Linked DNA regions of Homo sapiens: region 2 is linked to region 1. Evidence: promoter capture Hi-C in 16 types of primary human blood cells and fetal thymus (Javierre and others, 2016). All regions are on one chromosome and are shown on one strand. The core of a region is centred on a gene start or on the middle of the fragment in contact, and the rest is flanking DNA. Distances in the headings are between cores, read along the strand shown.

Evidence for each region. Contacts are between HindIII fragments. The CHiCAGO score rates a contact against its expected background, and 5 or more counts as called.
Region 2: a contact is called between a fragment that was not itself captured here and the fragment with the promoter of KCNJ6 in region 1, in 2 of 17 cell types (neutrophils and endothelial precursors). The highest score is 5.7, in neutrophils.

The regions. Positions count from the first base shown.
Region 1 is chr21:37,915,105-37,918,163 of GRCh38, reverse strand. KCNJ6 (potassium inwardly rectifying channel subfamily J member 6) reads left to right here and starts at 1,707. Exons shown (of 4, transcript NM_002240.5): 1 at 1,707-2,280. The HindIII fragment of the contact is 6,207 bases long and covers 1-3,015 here.
Region 2 is chr21:38,359,465-38,362,513 of GRCh38, reverse strand. No RefSeq gene overlaps it. Among named protein-coding and RNA genes, the nearest start is that of LINC01423, 15 kb to the right of the region's middle. The HindIII fragment of the contact is 5,558 bases long and covers 1-3,049 here.

The DNA of each region.
Region 1 (3,059 bases), core at 458-2,957:
CCAACTCTTGACTTTCTTATTTAGTCTAATATCTTGTAAGAAAGATACTTTGTGAAATCATTCTACTGGTAAAAGTATATATCATCAAAATTAGCAGGCATACCCATAGCAGCTTCACAGATTAAACAGAATGCCCTTTACACAACTATAGTCAACATGGGTTGTTCTTTTAATGTTCTAAGGCTGTGTCCACCGAAATCCTGCATCTTGCATTTGTATTCCTGGTCTCTCAGGGATTATTTGGTTCAGTTGTTCTTTGTTTATTTGTAACACTATCACTAGATCCAGCAGGCATTGTGGAGCACGTATTACACATACTACAGATATTACACATACTCATATCTTCTGTATATGGGATATATGACTCAGAAGTAATAGCAAGTCAGATTACAACCTCTTAGGGAAAATCAACAGCAAATACAAGCTCACAGGCCGTGTGTACGGTTGACTTTTACATGACTTTGGATGCAAATTGACACAAACACCTCTCCATATTACAGTCATTTTTAGAGGGCAGACAGCATTCTTGAGGGGACCTGAATTGCTAGGTAATTAAAATGTATGTATGTAGAATAAAATAATCTTGGAAATAAGAGGTTTCCGTAAGCCTTCTCTCTAAAATAAGGTCACCTTCTTTGAGGTAGAGATTCTGTGCCTTGTGGAAGGAAAGCCACTTCATAAAGCAGCACAAGAATAGCCAGTTATTGAAAGGGCCATTATAAAATTACTAGCCAATGGTATTCGCTACTCTTACAATTTGTCAATCCATTCATCCCTAGGAAAAAGACAGCATAAAAGAGAGTTCTGTTCATAGGTAGAAGCAATTTATGGGAAGACTTTGGAAATGTAGAACCATTGTTTTTGATGACCATAAGAAAAAGAGGGGGTGCAAGAGGGGAGCACTATGAGGGGCCCCTGGAATAACAGCACAAAGCAAGTTAGATTCAAAGAGTGGAGTAGACCTTTGTCTAAGGGGCTTATCCTGACAAATTCAACTTTGAAGGCAGCCTGGGTCATTCTTGGAAAAGGCCATTCTTTGTCTCCAGTGACCCCAGAGACATCATATAAGGATGGGGTGATGATGCAGCAGCCGGGACCAGGTCCCAGTTGCAGTGGACAGGACAGAAGGGACTGAATGGGGCAGCAGGCTGGGGCGCCACCAGGTGCAAGCAAAGCTCAGGGATAGGGCCCCTCCCCTCCGTCCCGGCCGCTCGCTGCGCCCCCTCTGGGCGGTGCAGGCTCCGGCTCCCGCGCCGGGGCTGCCTCTCACGGATTTCAGCCCGGTGGGAGGCAGTGCCCAGAGCCTCTTTTTCCTTATCTCACAAAACCCTAAAAGCCGAACCCCTACAACCAGCAGACAAAACTGCTCCCCGAGCTTCGGCTCTTTCCTGCTTTCCAGGCGTTTCTCCGGGAATAACTTACTTAGTGGCACTGGGAGAAAGGTTGGGACTGGGGGGTCGGGGACCGAAACCCAAAAGATTCCCCCAGCATGGAGCACCCACGTTTCCAGTGGCGGGGGATGCACGTTGGTTTGTGCCCAGCCCGCCCCCACCAAGCCCGGTCCTCGACGCGCTGACACGCTAGCTGGCATGGGCGGCGGGGTGGGCGTCTCTGGGTCTGTGGCTCTGTCCTGCTCGCCCCCGCCCCTTCCTCCCGGACCGCGCCGGCGCTGTGCGGCTTTTTCCCCAGCACGCGGCGCTGCACTCGCTTTTATCTCGGAGCCGCGTCGCTTCGTGCGCTGCCAGCGGGGCTCAGCCAGTCGGCTGGAATTGAGTAGCATTCATTGAATCTGCGGATTTCATGACGTCTCTCTGCGTGGTCCACCACTTTTCTCCTAACCGGGGATTTTTTTTTTCTTCTGCCACTCTTATCTTTCCCCACTTCATTCCACCCAGTCTCCCTCCCCCGTCCCTGCCCAAACGCGCGCCCCTCCGCCCCTCCCTTGGCCCCAGCGCCCAGCCCTGCTCTCCGCGCTCGGCCAGAGGGAGCCAGTCCGGAGACGGCCGCACCTGGCTGGAGAGGCTGGGCGGGCGGAGGGGTGGAGACCCGCGGACGCCGGGAAGCCGGACCTGGAGCCGGAGCAGCCGCGAGCAGAATGGAGTCTCCTAACAGCCTCTCGGTGCTGATGTGAAATTTGACCATCTGATTCCAGTTTTTTTCTTTTCCTTTTCTTTTTTGCATTTCCTTCCCTCGCCATCCGTCGTGTAGTGAATTGTTCAGTCTTGCTCCGTTTCAAGAGAGGAGATCATGATTGAGTGAAGCCACCCCGTCCGCAGCCAGGTAAGCGGTGCGCTGAGCTGCTCGCAGGCGAGGAGCTGGCGTCCACCTGGGCGAGGCGTTCCGTGCTCTCGGGTCCCCGCGTCCCCTTCCCCAGCTCCGCCGTCGCCGCAGGCATCTCCACTCTCATGAGAAACATTGTGCCCAAGTCAGCCGAAAGGCGAGGGAGAAGCCGGTTACATAACAGAAGGGGAATCTGTTTCATACGGTTTTCATTAGCGACTGAAACTCGCACGGGGGGCGGGGGAAGGAGGGGTCTGCATCCCTGGGCTCGCAGAAACCCAGTCAGTTATTGCAGACATCATTTCAACATCCGCTGGCAAAGACTTAAATGCACTGATTAACTGACAGGTGCGGCTTGTGATGTAGTCATTTACAGTTGGGAAAAGCCTATTGTCTTTGTGGAAGGCAGTCTTCTTGTTCTGCTTTGCATGGAGAGGAGAGGAGACAACACGAAAGGGAGGAAAAGTGAGGGTTGGGGAGAAACATGCGGAGAATGGGAAACAGAATACTGTAACTCCTAACTGTTCTCTATCCTTAAAACCGAAGATGTGCTAGCATGACTAAAAACAGTGAATAGGAAGATCTTCCTAGGAGTAAACTGAATTATTTTGTAATTGGAAGGGAAGAAAAAACACTTTAGATAAAATGAGATGTGTGTGGCATTTAGAGGACTGGGTGGCTGTGGATATTTGCTTCCCTGTGGATATATTTTCATTTTCATCAAAACATTAAGCTTGGATTAGTTTTTAAGTGAAATAACATCAGTATTCCCAAAACCC
Region 2 (3,049 bases), core at 183-2,682, 440 kb before region 1:
GACACCCACCTTGATGTTTATGGCTCTCTTCCTCCCAGGAGATGTAATTTCATGCAGGAAGGTAATGAGCGCTTGTGGTCTTGCTCCTATTCCAAATGGCTAAAGAAATCCAGGTAGTGAGTGGTCATATTCAGTATAGGAACCAGGTCAACAAAACTTCCTTTCAAGAAACAGCCTCGTGGCACCTTTCTCGAGATGAAGGTCATGGTGGGATCAGATACCAGCATGCCATTGGTTTGCATTAAGGTTTCAGAACCCATGTCCCACTTGGACCTGCTCTGTGATACCTTTGGTGTCTCCTGGTGTGCTTTACACAAGGACATGGCTGGGTCTGTAGGGCATGGGGGTGGCAGCGTGAGTGGACTGGGGTAAAGTCAAAGTCAACACTTGTCCTTTAACTGGTCACTGGCTAACTGGTCACTGGCTAGGCTAATTCTATGCCTCCTCTGAGGAAAACCTCTGGCATTCTCTTTCCTGGGAAGGCTAGCTTTGCTATGATGATCACCACAATATCTGTGTATGTCTGAGGACTTGAATTCAAGGGCATTAAGTCATCTTCCCAATACTTTTGTGACTTTGCAGTTATTCCAAAATCCCTGTCTCTGGATGGTGTGGCTTTGTTTCTTCTTGCCCAGCTGCCCAAGGTATTCCCTTCTCTTGTTTCTCCCCTCTTTCCTCAATCCCCAACTCCATTCCCTTTCTGGTTCCTCTCCAGTCCCAGAAAAAATTGTCAGGGATAGAGTAGAGATATGTGAACTTACAGAGTTTCTTCCCTGCTCAATAAATCCAAGAGCAGGCAGATAAACTGTCCAAAATATTTCTTGAGAGTTCCAGACATCATGGCATGGATGGAAGTATCCAGGGACTTGAGGTCCCTGTGAGGCTGAAAGCAGCCATGGTGGAATTACCAGGCGGGAGTGTGGCAGGGGAGGGAGTGAAGGGCCACCTTCCTGTTTTCCAGGGATTGCTCTGATGGGTTGAGGGAGAATGATCTGGGTGGGAGGAGTGACTTGCTGTAGGGTGACCTGAGCAGCTCATAATTCTGCAGGCTGATAACTCTTAGAGTGCTGGAGGGAAGTGGAGCCAACAGCCATTAGGGAAGACTGGAGATCATGCTGGGGGAGCATGGTGAACTTGAGGGCAGGGAAGGTGGACATAGAGAGAGAAGAGCCCCAAACAAATCTTATGCCTTTCACAGTAAAATAAAACCTATGGTGACAAAAATCATCTCCTAAAAATTGGTACTGGGGCAAGGCTGGGCCACAAGAAATTGTAATTGGGGAAGATGGGTTACCTTTACGTCAGAAGTGGGGGAAAGTGACAAAGGGGTTGAGTTAGGAGAGGGAAAGGTTGTGTGTCATGGGTGCTAGAAATTTAAGTCGTGGGATTAATGAGAACAAACTGGTCCACAAACCGTGAGTCCAGAGAGGTGCTGCCAAGCAGAGGACAGTGACTGAGGGTGTGCATAATGACAGGGAAGGCTCCTGGATAGAGAAGGGCCACAGTGCTGGGCATGAGCCCAGGCAGGCTGGAGAGTTTGTCCTCTGCCCCCTTCTTGAAGGTGTCATGCTCTCTCACTGTATTAGTCCGTTTTCATGCTGCTGATAAAGACACCCAAGACTGGGTAATTTATAAAAGGAAAAGAGGTTTAATGGATTCACAGTTCCAAGTGGCTGGGGAGGCTTCACAATTATGATGGAAGGCAAAAGGCACATCTTACCTGGCAGCCAGCAAAGACAGAACGAGAGCCAAGCAAAAGGAGTTTCCCCTTATAAAACCAGTAGATCTCGCGAGACTTATTCACCACCACGAGAACTGCCCCCATGATTCAAGTATGTCCCACCTGCCCTCTCCCACAACATGTGGGAATTATGGGAGCTACAATTCAAGATGAGATTTTGGTGGGGACACAGCCAAACCATGTCACTCACCTTCCTTGTATTTGCACACAGGTTCTCTCTCCCTGACATGCACCTGCCTATGCCACCACCAGGTCAGTGCTCACTCGCCCTTTGAGATCTCCATTCTGCACATGCTGGAGTGCCCCAGGTCCTAAGAAGACACCTCTTTCTACACCCTCTCTCTGGTTGATCACGTATAGCCTCATGACTTTTCATACCATTTGCATATATTGAGTTTGCAAATGTGAGACGATGACTCCAAGTTGTACCTGTAGTTGACATTTTCCAGGAACTCCAGCCTCTACCTAGATGTCTAATGAGTATCTCGAACTTAACATATCCCTAAACCAAATCAAACTCTCCCTAATGCCATACATCAAACTCCAATTTGGGTAGCTCTGCTGTTCAGAAAACATTACAAAGTCAACTCACCTCACACCGTTCCAGCAGTGCCTCTGTAGTCTGGTACCCCAAGGGCCCCTGTGTCGGTCAGCACTCTCCACATCTCCAAGGCTTACGACGACAGCCATCTCATTCTCACTCCCACCTCTGTCATGGCTGTGTGCCACGGTGGCAGCCCTGCTCCATAGGCTTTCCCATTCTAGGACCTGGACTGGAGGGTACCCCCTGTTGGAAATGCCTCTTCTCAGAGCAGAGGGAAAAAAGCAAGAGCCAACCAGGCAATGGCCCTCAAAACTTCTGCTCAGATGTGGCCTTTGCTCATGTCCCTCGAGGCAAAGCAAGTCACATGGCCAAATGCGCAGTCAATAAGGTTGGAGGGGTACACTCTGTCCCTGGGAGAGGCAGGCAAGGCCCATGGTAAAGGCAGAGGATGCAGAATCCTGTGACGGCCAAGGAGCAACTCAATCTCCCATCAGTCCTAACTTGTCCCCCTACTTCTACTCTCTCCTCCCTCACCAATTCCATTCTCTACACATCAACTAGAATAATTAAATACATGATTTAAAAACTTCATCTGACCATATCACTCTTCCCTCAGACCCTCCAATGGTTTCAAGTCCACTTGGGGTAAGAGAAAAAGTTGTAATCCTCCTAGTGGCCAACAATGCCCTGCAGAACCTGACTGCACACCAGCCTCTGACGGGTTCTGAGACTCTGTAGCCTCCATGTCCTACCTCATCCACTCC